3 separate regions of the Homo sapiens genome follow, and regions 2 and 3 are each linked to region 1. The links are contacts of gene promoters, found by promoter capture Hi-C in blood cells and fetal thymus (Javierre and others, 2016). All regions are on one chromosome and are shown on one strand. The core of a region is centred on a gene start or on the middle of the fragment in contact, and the rest is flanking DNA. Distances in the headings are between cores, read along the strand shown. Region 1 holds the start of PTPRK-AS1 (PTPRK antisense RNA 1). Region 2 overlaps THEMIS (thymocyte selection associated). Region 3 overlaps THEMIS (thymocyte selection associated).

Region 1 (4,474 bases), core at 1,433-3,932:
CTAAGAAATATCCATATCTTACAGGACACAGCTAAGGGAAGAGTCAGGTTTTAAGGACCGTCTACAGATAATGTCAGGATGTACAGATAAATATGAGCAACTGCTGATTGAGCTAGAAACACTGCTGGTTAAGTTATAAATCTTATGATTTTTACCCTTCAAAATGCCTCTTTCCTTGCTGCTTTATATTTTTTTAAAGAGCGGAGTATGTTGTCACTTGGAGGTTGTGCTGCTTTCCTGTGACTTTAGTCACCTTTGGTGCCCTGGCCAGATCCCTTTTACCAAGCCTGTAAAATGCCCAGTTTCCGTCAGTGTTAGCTGCTATTGGCTCACAGCCCCCACTTCTCTTCAGAATCACTTGTAGCTGAAAAACATTTACTTTGCCAAACCTTATGTGCCCATCTCCCAGCACTATCAGCTCATATCTGATGACTAACTGACATGGGGAATACAAAAAGCCAGTGCCCTCACTTCATTAGGTCAACTCTGGGGCAATTCATGCTCTAGTGCTCCCCGTGACATCAGGCTGAAGTTAGACTTATGCTAATACCACATTCTCACTTAGCTGCTTTCCCTTTCCTACCCTACTTTCCTCTCTCCTTTTCATCTGACAACACTCCCTTAATAAATCATGTGCATCCAAATCCTTGTCTTAGGCTCTGCTTCTAGGGAACCTAAGCAGTGATATTTTTGAGAGTATAGATTCTTTCTTCTTTTATCTTTCATCCTCAATCTCCAGCACATCTGGATCATGATGCTTTACAAGTATTTTGAAGAGTAAGCAAAGTAAGAAATTTGGCCTTCATTTGGTGTGTTAGTTAGTCCTTGCATTGCTATAAAGTAATATGTGAGGCTGGATTATTATTATTATTATTATTATTATTATTATTATTATTATTATTATTATTTTGAGATGGAATCTCACTCTGTCACCCAGGCTGGAGTGCATTGGCACTACAACCTCTGCTTCTTAGGTTCAAGTGATTTTTCTGCCTCGCCTCCCCAGTAGCTCGGATTACAGGTGCCCGCCACCCTGTCCAGCTAATTTTTGTATTTTTAGTAGTGATCGGGTTTCACCATGTTAGCCAAGCTGGTCTTGAACTCAAATGATCCACCTGCCTCAGCCTCCCAGAGTGCTGGGATTACAGGTGTGAGCCACTGCATGCAGTCAGAGACTGGGTAGTTTATAAAGAGAAGAGGTTTAAATGGTTCATGGTTCTGCAGGCTGTAGAGGAAGCGTAGTGCTGGCATCTGCTTCTGGTGAGGGCCTCAGGGAGCTTACAATCATGGCAGAAGGTGAAGGGGAACCATGTATCACTTGGCAAGAGAGGGAGACAGGAGAGGGAAGGTCCACACTCTTTAAACAACCAGATCTCACAAGAACACTCATTACTGTGAGGATGGCACCAAGGCATTCGTGAGAGAGCCAACCCCCAAAACCAAAAACCTCCCACCAAGTCCCATCTCCAGCATTGGGGAATACATCTCAGCATGAGATTTGGAGGGCACAAACACCCAAACTGTATCAGTTGATCAAGAACTGACCATGGAAGATGGATAGTTGAAGTCACAAGCAGTCCAGCACAATTCTAACCTTACCATGAATCTGAATTCTTAGCTCACTAAAGATTTAGGAACAGAATTGGGGAGTAGAATTATGGTCATGTAAAAATAGAGTCCGTTTAACATCCTAACCTTAAATCAGAAACCATCAAAGCATCATATCAACAAAAAAATTGTTTTCACTTATGAAAAATATGAATATTAACACAATTTTGTTGCACACTTACTCTCTGCCATATGTCTTACACTAGGCATTGAGAAAATACTAAAAATACATAGGATATGTTCCATGCTCTCAAGAAGTTGTGAATTGTGAAAGAACCTGATAGTTGAAGTAATAATTTCATGCAGTGTGCCTAAACATGAAATAGAATTCCATACAAAGTGACATTTAAATAGGTAGAAAAACCAGAGACCATATCCACACTGGTAACAGCATGGGCAGAGGTTTGCAGTTAGACATGAAAGTTAATGCAGTGTTCAAGAATATACTGAGGAGTTAGTAAGAAATTAGGCTAAAATGTATGTTGATACAGATATGAGAAAGGGCTGTAAGACTCAAGATTCACTTTATCTTGAGGGCAGGGTGGCAGCTATCAACAGTGCTAAAGCACTTTCTCTTCCACTTTAAAAATTAAAACAGTGTGGTAACCTTAAAAGGTGTTCTGAAACAATATTCTAAGCAACTGTTATCACTTTTGCTTTTTCCTTTTTTTTATCAGGTGCTTACTTAAACATTTCTCATAATTGCAAAGATTGTGACTTGTAATTATTTGTAGTTACTATTTTACCATGAGCTTTACCCACATTTTTATGTGTTTTAATTTTAAGTGGCTAAATATTATTATAAATAGTGTGTGCAGTATAATTTATATTCGTCATTTTCATTTTCCCTGAAATCTTTGTAGGCTATTAAGAAGAACAATGATAGGATCATATTTAAGTTTTAGAAAAATGACACCTTAAAAGCTGCAGGTAGATTAGGATGAGTAGGACTTGGAGTCAGAAACTTCAATAAGGGAGTGGCTGCAATATAGACTAGGAAAGAGGTGATACCAACCTGTCAGTGTCCTCATCGGTAAAAGAAGATACAGCTGGGCACAGTGGCTTATGCCTGTAATCCCAGCACTCTGGGAGGCCAAGGTGGGCGGATCACTTGAGGCCAGGAGTACGCACCAACTTGGCCAACAGAGTGAAACCCCGTCTCTACTAAAAACAAAAATTAGTCAGGCACAGTGGCACACGCCTGTAGTCCCAGCTACTCGGGTGGCTGAGGTAGGAGAATTGCTTGAACCCAGGAGAAGGTTGCAGTAACCTGAGATGGCTCCACTGCACTCCAGACTCGGTGACAGAGCAAGACTCTGTCTCAAAGGAAAAAAAAAACATACAACAAGCCTCATAAGTGCTTGTGAAAGCTAATTGAAATAATATATTAAAAGAGTTTGGCATTTAGAAAGCTCTGAAACGATCATTCATTTAACAGAGGAAGCTATGAACATTTTTTTTTTAAAGGTCAGTTTGACTTTTAGGCACCTGATTTCCTGAAGGACTCTTTGAACTCTTTGAATGTGGGTACTGTTTTATGCATTTTCATGTGATAACTAAACAGCCTGATTTACATTCTTGCCCAATATACGTATTTCTTCAAATAATGAACTAATGAATTCCCGGGCAATAAATACCTTTTGGTTAAATGGACAAACAGTTCTGTTCAGTGGGAAACATGCTAGTAGAGTCTGCTTTTAAAGGAATTGCTGTATGCAGTATTCTAAGAAATAATGAGGAAGTATTTTTACTTCAAAATACTTTGATCATAATATGATGATAGGTATTTTCTTCTCTTGCCTGTGAAAGTGTGTGTTAGGTATGTACATTATGGGGCCAAACTAGTGATTGTTGCTAATTAGGATATATGTGGCGCATTCTATCAAGAATCCCAGTTTTCTGGGCACTGTGAGCTGTAAGTCAAGTCATAAAAAGGAGTGAATTGTCTTTTTCATATATAGCACTGAAATTGACTGGAGTTAATTATTTAATGCCTACCTCCCCTACTAGACTACAGGCTGTGTCACACACCTCCCTCAGCATCTAGCACAGCAAATGGATTTAGTAATATTTATTGAATAGATTAAGAAATACAGAGTGAATAAAATAGGACACTGGTTGGAGTGTTGGGTCAACCACAATTTTGGTGTGATATATTCTACATATCACAGTGAGAAGGAAAATGATATAAAATGAATAATATCCTCCTTAAAGTACTATACAAAAAGAATACTTCTTATATTTTTTCAAGATGATGTAATCTTGTCAAATATATAATATGTTGCATGCCAGTGCTTTCTTAATCCTTAATAGTAATACCAGTAATTGTATATTAAGTTCCTGCTATGTGTCAAATACTTCTAGGTACTTTAAATGTATATTCAGTAATCTTCAGAACAAGCCTAGAGAGCAGAATTTAGTTATTTCATTGTAAAGATGAGAAAAGTGGGTCTCAAAAAAAGCAGATAACTTGTCCCAGATCACACAGTAGTTTTTCTTGGTACCTGGAGTGATTTTCATCCCTCTTTCAAATACAACCCTTTGGCTATTGGGAAGTAGCTATTACAACTGTATTTTTTCTTTAACTTGATGTAAGGGAAAGACCACTTTACACATATACAAATAGGAGAAAGTTTTGCCAGACCTTCTGCAGCTAGTATTTACATGAGTGAGTAGAGAATTGTAAGAGGTTCTGGTAGCAGTAAAAACAAATTACAAACAACGGAACATGAAGAGAAGATGTTGTCTACCAACATCTGTCAAATATGGCAGATGATCTTCTTTGTCTTATTTTGTTCAATACCACTCAATATCATCACTTAGGCCTCTCTCTCTTACTGTTTAGATCTCTTGGGATTCTCTTAAT
Region 2 (4,474 bases), core at 904-3,403, 310 kb after region 1:
GAATAACAGAACCTTGAGACCTCTTGACACGCAATGTTTGGGTAAAGAAGGATACTCCAGCAAAGGAGACTAAGAATAAGCACTCAGAGTGGAAGGAGGAACATCAGAAACCAAAAGAAGGAGGTGACCAGACATGTCAGATGCTGCTGAGAGGTAAAACAAGTTGAAGTCTGGCAGGTAAAACAAGTTGAAGTCTTCCAGATTGAAGTTTCTGAGCAGCAATGGATGCTGGACAGAGAATAAAGGAAAAAGAGCAAAGGGGTGATGGATATAGAGAAAGTAGAGGGATCAGTGGATCTCAGATCCCAGTGAGGTCCACAAATAGCCTTGGCAGAAACTGTGGAAAAAGCAGTCTTGGAGAAGGAGATTTGGCTGGAGTGGAGAGAATAAACTTGAGGATAGGAGATGAAGAGAAAGAGGAACATACTTAATATTGGAGGTGGAAACATTTCAGCTGATGATAGACTTCAGATGTGATCTTGGGACTGAAAGCATGAGGTAGAAAAAATGAGAAGTTCATTTGTAGTAAGGAGATCCAGGGATGAATCAGACAGAATGTTTATGTAGATATGGATATTGTCCAAGATCATAGCGATGCTGAGGCTAGAAAAGACAAAAGTCTGGGTGTCAAAGCCTTTTTATGAAAAATGCATGGATATTAGTAGATAGATGATACCAACAAGAAGGGAGACGGCACACAGTTAGACGACAGGAATATCAAAGTAGCAGACATGTTTTGCAAGGAGGTAAGGTTGCAACGGACAACACTCAGAGAAGGGGATCCTCCAACTTAAGGGTAACAGGGATGAGGAAGAATAAGCAGGCAGTATCATTCACAGAAGAAGAGGTGTCTTCAAAGAAGAATGAGATTTTCGTCAGGGTAAGAAGGTAGAGACAATATTCAGAAAAGAAGTTGAACAGGTAGTGAAGTTTGCAAACCATAAAGCAAAGTTATCAAGGCATGGTGGAAGAATTTGAGAAATAGGAAAGGGGAGAGGGAAGAGAGAGAATTGAGGGTTAGTGGAGGGCAGTTGGGCAATTAAGAATGAAACACTGTAGGAATTTTATTGTAGCAGAAAAGAGATGCCAGGGTATAATGTGCAGACCCAGGGAACTAGAAGGAGGGGCTAAGTAAACAAGGAAGAGCGAGTGTGGCAAGGTCAGCAACTTAAGAGACACCTACCTCCCTTTACGTTAGGACCTGGGAACAGCAGCCTGGCTATAATATGTAATGTAAAAGAGAAGCTGGAAAATCTGACAGGGGTTGCTTAAGAAGAGACTCCACTGTGGGAACTGTTTCCAGGAAAATGAGGCTCTTAATTACTGAAACACTAATATGTTTATAAAATGTCCAGTGTGCCAGAGGTTTGCACCAGGAAGCACAGAACCTTTACAATACAGAACCTATTCTGATGAAGGGGCTATTTTCTCTCTCAGGTTTTCACAACAATCCTTTTATGAGTAAATAAACTCAGCATTTCTTTTATTTTCAGTCTGGAATATATTAGAATATACACAACTTGCATGAATTCTTAACTTTCCCTCAATGTTTTAATATTTTCAATTGAATTTGGTATGAACAAACATGAAGCTTATTCCTTCTTTGATCTATTGCATTGCTCAGTTCTGAGAAACTGTGATTTAATACTCATGTCATAACTTGAAATAATAATATACTTTTCAAAGGTATGTAATTCAGAATCAGGAAAGTAGTTGGATGCTGAAATCTGCTTCTTTCCAAAAACTACATGATAATAGAGGCCTGACAATAAATTTTAAAAATTACAGTGATGGGCTTATATTTTTGTGGACTGTGGAGGAGCTAAAAATAAACAAGTGGGGTGGTTTAGTTCTAGTTGATACCAACATCCAAACTGATCTTTTGAGCTGTCTTTTGTAGTATTGCTAGGATCCCTTCCTTGGTCATTAGAAAAGGAATTGAGAAATATCTACAAATGACTTACCACACTCTATTTTAATTATCTGCATAAGCAATGTAAGAAATTGTGTTTGAATAATTTGGAGTCTGAGAGAATGTCATGTTATATTTGTATTCTCACACCACATCCATTATCTGGGATACTATAGATAGACGGTGGTTGAATGTACCAGTTATCCGTCAGCATACAATGCTGCATAACCACCAGAAAAACATAATGGCATACAACCAAAATCACATTCATTTAGTTCATGAAGCTGTGGAATTCATCTGACTTGAGCTGGTCTCAGATGATCTAGACTGGTTTCACCCAAACGTCTGGGGCTCCTCTGGCTGTTGTTTGCTTCAGCTTGGACAACTGGGGTGACCTAACTCTGCCCATCTCATGTTCAATCTGCAGCCAGCTAGTCTAGGCATAGCCTCATGGCATAGTGGAAGTTAAGGAATGAGCAAAAACAATTGTGCAAGCCTCTTTCAAGCCTCTGTGTCAATATCCTATTGGGCCAGAAGAAGCCACATTGATAGGCCAAAAGTCAGAGTAGGAGGGCCCTGCAAAATTCTATAGAAAGGACATGGATACAGAGATGGGTGAAGAATGAGGGCTATCCATACATCCAGTCCACCACATTAAAAATCTTAAGAAATCAATCATGAAGAACACTGTCCAAAGTTCAGGATTCATATCGTAAGGCTCAGCACTGTTCATTTTGTTAACTCAAGTGAATTATTTAATCATTCTAAAGCCTAATTTCCTTATTGGCCTTTCTCAAGCTTTAAAAGTGGTTGATTTTATAAAATCAAGCTTTTAATGAATTTCATGCAATATATGGTCTACAGGAGAAACTTTACAGGAAAGTTGTCCATTATACTATCCTTTAGTGAGCCAACATGGCTAGCCTGAATGGCCATAATTGATTAGCTAATATTTACGCTGAGAATCTTCACATATTCTGTAATCTTATTCAATTTGACAAACTTCTAGTCTGGACTTGGGTATGAATTAATTAAGTACTGGAAGTTTAATTTCCAATTGAAGTCTTCACTTTTTGTTCCCATCTGATGATTCTTTGAAGCATACAGTGTGTCAGTATAATGTCAAATGCTGTGACATCTCTTACATGTGAGATGAGTTATAGGGACCATTGATGCTGTGCCTTAATAATTCATTGTTATGATGAATTATTACTCTGAAATTGACTAAAGGAGCTTTGTCAAATTTGCATAATGCTGATTAAAAATGTGGTTTAATTTATAGTAGATGTTATGATTTGTTTTATATAAAGAGTACAGATGATACAGAAATGAAATCTGCTTTTGATTATATAATATGTAATTATGTAATATATAATGAAGTGCTGGATTAGTTAACTATAATAATAAAAACTAAGTAAAAATTTTCTAAATGAAAAATATTTTATAAGCTTCACAAGAAGAAAGTAATATACACAAATAGTCTTTGCAGATGGTTTTCTATGCCTAAAATGACTTCTTATTCTAGTTACTTAGATTGCTTCAAAAATTGTACACCTCAGTTTCCAAAATATATTGATGAACATATAATTTGTAGCTTGCTTTGACATGTCAAATGTTCTGTTTCAGACATACAGAAATGAATTGCCATGTGATAAATCTTTCATATCTCTATGAAGCATTTATTTTGGACTGATAATTTACTTGTGACCTGTGTCATTTCAGCGTCATCACGTAGACATAACCAAGAAACTTCACCCAAATCAAGCTGGCCTGGATTCAAAAGTACTGATTGGTAGTCAGAATGATTTGGTGGATGAAGAGAAAGAAAGGAGCAACCGTGGGGCCACAGCAATAGCAGGTACTGATGTGACTATAGGTCAGTTAAACCACGGTGGTTTAACTGTCCACATGACAAAGGTGCAATGGACAGATTCTTACTATTATTTTATTTGGAATATATGACTCAGCCCAAGTGATCACCCTGCTCTGCCAATCACATTGAAATGAAGATTTATGTGAAGCATGATATTGAACACTCACAATAATAATAGTAATGTTTATTGTTTTCCACTATTAGATTTTTCACCTCATTTATGGTTTTCATGGCAATGAAATATTTCAAGATTACTTGTATTGTTGTGATAATAATATTTTTGCTGGAACAATGAACAAGAAGAATTACTGTCTTGAAAAGAGGTTAAAATAATTGAGATGTTTTAAATTTAAAGAAGCGTCAGATAAGTCACTGAATGCAAGCTTGAATTATGATGGTTTAGTTTATAGAGATTGTGATCTGATATTTTTCATCTCTACTGAGTGCAAAACAAAAGCAAACGGACTTGTGGAGGAGTTGATAGCATTCAATTAAGCTACCCAGACTAACTTCCATATGGCAGAAATTTGGGATGAGCTAGCAAGGGAAATAAGAAGTTTGTTTCTTGCCAATATTTTAGACACACCAAACCCCCTCAATTTCTATTACACTTTATCTTTGAAACTTCACATTTAGTTCATACAAAAATTGAAACTGTAATTATTCTTAAGCATACGGTTTGCTCCTTT
Region 3 (4,474 bases), core at 1,210-3,709, 260 kb after region 1:
CTTCACAGCTAGTGACCTGGTATCAGCTTCCTCATCCATTTTTCCTAGTTGAAAATTCATCCCAATTTGGGCTTTTATTGTTCTCTCTTTATCATCTTCCATGCAGCTACATTCATGACACGATGCAAACTTTGTTGCATTGTGAAATACTTCCCAGACAGTAGGCAACCAATAAAGTTGGTGAGCAATAAAGAGGTGGAAGAAAATAACAATTCTTATCTCTCAAATGACTTTATATACGATTTTGGCTTTGTGTTATTAGAACCATTAAGAGTCTGAAGAGACCTTTCATATATTTTTTTATTCTGCATTACTGAATTTTTAAGAAAGAAATTATGTGCTATAATAGTGTTCTTGACTTTGAGAATTCTTGAAAGTCTCAACGGGTATCCCTGGAGAATGTAAGGGTCTCCTGTAATAAGATTAGATTTATGAGAGACTTGTAGTTTATATGAAGCTTTCAAATTCACAGTTAATGAGGTTTCCCTGGTGGTGGCTCATACAAATGAAGATGTCAGAACAAAATGAAGCATAAACTCCTACTGCAATTGGGGGGTCTAATTTCATGATAATGTGGAAAGAGAGAGAGAGCAAAACATATAACAACATTTATGTTAATCTTCAGGAAAAGCAGAGTTAAAATAACTTCTAGATATTTTAAGTAATAGATAAGAAAATAAAGATACTCAAAAATCTAATGATAGATAGGAAAAAGGAATGGGAGGACAATACCCAAACTGTTCTTGAGCCATAGTCTGGTTATCAATGACTGCCAGTGCTTTAGGGTAATACCAGCATGCAACACCTGTCTTGGATCAATGTTATTACCAACTGCATTATTTTAGGAAATAAGGCCTGAAATAGTCAAGGAGTGGATAAGGAGAGGTGTTTGTAGCCTAGTGTCCCATTTAGGCCTTCTCTGCAGCTATGATATCTCTGTATAAACTTAAGAAACATTTTCTTTTATATTTTATTCTTATTGATTATAGGAGTCTGCTGCAGACATGCATTTCCTAACCACTTTTTAATGTTTTAATGTTTCTTTAGTATTAATTCTATACCAAAATTAAATGGACGTTACTATAGTAAAAAAAAAATGCCTCAAGATTATAGAGTTCAACAAAATGAAAGAGAAAGAGAAGCTAAATTTTGGCAAATGACTGTGGAAAAAAATACAGAAAATGGGTTTCACCTTATTTAGTCTCTACCTCATGGGGTTTTATAAGTATTAAATGGGATAAAGTTTGTGCAATGCCAGGTACCTAGTAAACACTCAGTAAATATTGCCAATCATAAAGCCTTCTATTACCAATTTTCTGATACGAAATATCTTGCACACTTTCCTGTGTCTTTCTTTCTAAACTTGGGATAAATTTCATGATACTCTCATTTGTTTCTTCCTTAACTACATCTAATTAAACCAGATTTTAGGAATCTATAAGTTATATGCCCTCTCTGAATGATCTCTTCGATAGTAATATAATGTGAGCCACAATTTTGAGTCATATATGTAATTAAAATTTTCCTAGTAACTGTATCAAAAAAGCAAAAAGAAACAGGGAAAAACTTCTTTGAGTGATATACTTTAGCATGATATTTACAAAATATCATCAGTTTCATTGATTTACATGTAATCAATGTAAAATTATTAGACAAAACTTACTTTTACATTTTAAAAATCTAGTACTTATATTATACACATCTCAGTTCAGACTATCCACATTTCAATAATTCAATAGCTACCTGGTCAATGTAGTTTTATATGAAGAGAAAATGAAGTTTACAATAAAGAAAATTATCTCTAGTTACATATTTTCAATCATTTGCAAGTGGATAAGGTAACTTTTTTCATGGATCATGATAAGTAAGGAGAGTAGAAAAGCTAGGACAAAGACCTTTTTTTTGGTTTGTTTTTGTTTTAAATCACTTCTAATTATAACCTACTTTGTTACGCAGAAGTCTAGAGTTGGGCAGAAACACCTGTCTCAAACAGCCATCAATTCTTTGGAGTATTCAAAATTAACTTTTGTTTGGGATGATGTTAGTTAGTTAATCTAGTCATAGCCACAACACGAATATTGATTTTTGATGATTCAATGAGATAATGCACACAAAAGCATTCTGTAAGTTATACAGCACTATAAATGCATAGTGAGGATCAAGACTATTTTAATCACATAGAGAATTCATTGGTGAGTGCACCTAAATTAAAATATAATGCTTTCCCTTTCCTTTCTAAATTGACCTTTCCCTGTACAAGTTATTCATGGAAATCAGACACATTCTTTTCTTTCTTAAACTCTTAGGTCTCAAGCTAATAGGTAAGAGAGTAAACCCTGGTTGGGATTAATTTTTCAAAGGGAATACTTAAAAGCATTCCCTTTGTCTTTCCTTTCATTTCCCCAATCCAATTATTTCATACTTATATAATGGTTGTATGGGTCTCCAATTATCTATCTTTTTTTTTCAGTGCAGATAAACAGCTGATTAAATCTTTCTTTGATTTTTATGAAATGTAGTAACTTGGTAGACAACACTGAATGTATTACTTCTGTGTATGTAGCCTAGAAATACTTAGAACAATGGCAGCAAAAGCAGGTAATGCAAGGGAGATGATAGAAATGAGAAATTAAAGCAAGGTCAATGCCAATTCCATAGGCTAATTATAGTTTTCAGTGCATTATGAGTATTGAAAACTGTTTAGATTGAGTAGAGGAAATAATGGAGATGGTGACAGTTATTTTAATTAATTAGAGTGGCCAGGGAATGAAGTGAGCAAGACAATCATGTCTACTTCTGAGAGAAGAACCTTTCCAGGTGGAGGGGACTGACAATGCAAAGACCTTGAAGTAATAAGTTTCTTGTCATGGCTGGAATAGAGATGAATGGTAGTATATTTTATCTGAGAGCTGGCAGAGAGCCAGAGTGCATAAGGAATGATAAGCGCTTTAGATTTCTTTTCTGAGTAAGACAGGATGCCAACAGAGGATTCATTTTTGTATTTGTTATTGTTTCAGTTCTGGTAAGAAGACATGAGATCTATCATTGTAACAAATTTTTACCTATACAATATAATATTGTTGAATATAGATACCATATTGTATACAATATCTTTAGAGCTTATTCATCTTCCTTGACTGAAACTTAATTTGTCACTCCTCATTTCACTGTCTTCCCACCTGACAACCACCATCCCTTTCTGGGATTCTATGAATTTGCCTAGTTTTAGATACATCATATAATAGAATCGTGATATATTTATCTTTCTATAACTGGCATATTTCAATTAGCATAATGTCTTCCAATTCATACATGTTGTCACATACTGCAGAATTTCCTTCTTTTTTAAAAAATCTGAATAGTATCCCCTTGTATGTATAGCGTACATTTTCTTTATCCATTCATTAATCAGTAGACATTCAGGGTGTTTCCACATCTTGATTATTGTGAATACAACTGCAACGAACATAGAAGTGCTCCTATCAATTTGAGATACCGATTTCAGTTCTTTTGGATAAAAAACTCAGAAGTAGGATTGCTGGATCATATGGTAGTTCTATTTTTAATTTTTTGAGAGTCTCCATACTGTTTTCCATAATGGCTGTGCTATTGGCACTCTGGGTTCTTGTAATCTCCCAGGATAGAAATAAAGAGAGATCACTAGACATAGCAGCAAAGAGAAAGAGAAAGATTTATTTCACTTGTGCACAAGGAAGTCAGCACTACAAAAAGAAAAGGGTGGGCTGCTCCCTGAGAGTAGTATGTGCATTAGTTTTATAGGTCCTTTCTATAGGGAAGGGTTTCATCAGGTCCTGTATAGCAGGGGTTTCTCTAGTGCTTGTTCAGTGGCCTTATGCACTTCTTAATACATTGCATGGAAGATATGCAGTTTAAATCTCCACCCCTGGGTATGATTTTTAGCATTAAAATGAGGAAGGGGTAACTGTGAGTTGAAGTTCAAGTCTATCTTCACATGTGGAGTCCCAGGGAAGTCCCTAGCCCCCTAAAGCAGGAACCTGTAATTAATAGCTTCTTGGGTCTTTATTTGATGATTAGCTAGAAGTTAGGTCAGCTATAGCTTGAGTGAGAGGCATTTTTTCTTTTTCTCTAAACCACATCAAAATCAGAAGCCTGCCAGCTTGCCTGTCTCAGCTGTACCTTTGCATTTCCACCAAGAGTGTGCCAATGTTCCCTTTTCTTCACATCCTTGCCAACACTTGGCTTTTGATTTTTTGGTAATAACCATCCTGACAGGTGTGAGATGTTATCTCATTGTGGTCATAATTTGCATTTCCTTGTATGTTTTCTTGGGAGAAATGTCTCCTTAAGTCCTTAGTCCATTTTTAATCAGTTTTTTGGATATTAACCCTTATCAGGTATATGATTTGCAAACATTTTCTCCCATTCTATAGGTTGTCTTATTATTTTGTCAATTGTTTCCTTTGTTGTGCAGAAGCTTTTTTAGTTTGACATA

What was found. Contacts are between HindIII fragments. The CHiCAGO score rates a contact against its expected background, and 5 or more counts as called.
Region 2: a fragment that was not itself captured here is called in contact with the fragment with the promoter of PTPRK-AS1 in region 1 in 2 of 17 cell types (naive CD8 T cells and total CD8 T cells); the score reaches 5.6 in naive CD8 T cells.
Region 3: a contact is called between a fragment that was not itself captured here and the fragment with the promoter of PTPRK-AS1 in region 1, in 1 of 17 cell types (naive CD8 T cells). The highest score is 5.9, in naive CD8 T cells.

Annotation. Positions count from the first base shown.
Region 1 is chr6:128,026,073-128,030,546 of GRCh38, reverse strand. PTPRK-AS1 (PTPRK antisense RNA 1) reads right to left here and starts at 2,682. Exons shown (of 5, transcript NR_125849.1): 1 at 2,624-2,682. All of the region lies in intron 13 of PTPRK (protein tyrosine phosphatase receptor type K), which reads left to right. The HindIII fragment of the contact is 8,791 bases long and covers 1-4,474 here.
Region 2 is chr6:127,718,984-127,723,457 of GRCh38, reverse strand. It overlaps THEMIS (thymocyte selection associated), which reads left to right. Exons shown (of 6, transcript NM_001010923.3): 5 at 3,635-3,770. Among named protein-coding and RNA genes, the nearest start is that of LINC02536, 57 kb to the right of the region's middle. The HindIII fragment of the contact is 1,119 bases long and covers 1,594-2,712 here.
Region 3 is chr6:127,760,950-127,765,423 of GRCh38, reverse strand. All of the region lies in intron 4 of THEMIS (thymocyte selection associated), which reads left to right. Among named protein-coding and RNA genes, the nearest start is that of LINC02536, 99 kb to the right of the region's middle. The HindIII fragment of the contact is 3,999 bases long and covers 460-4,458 here.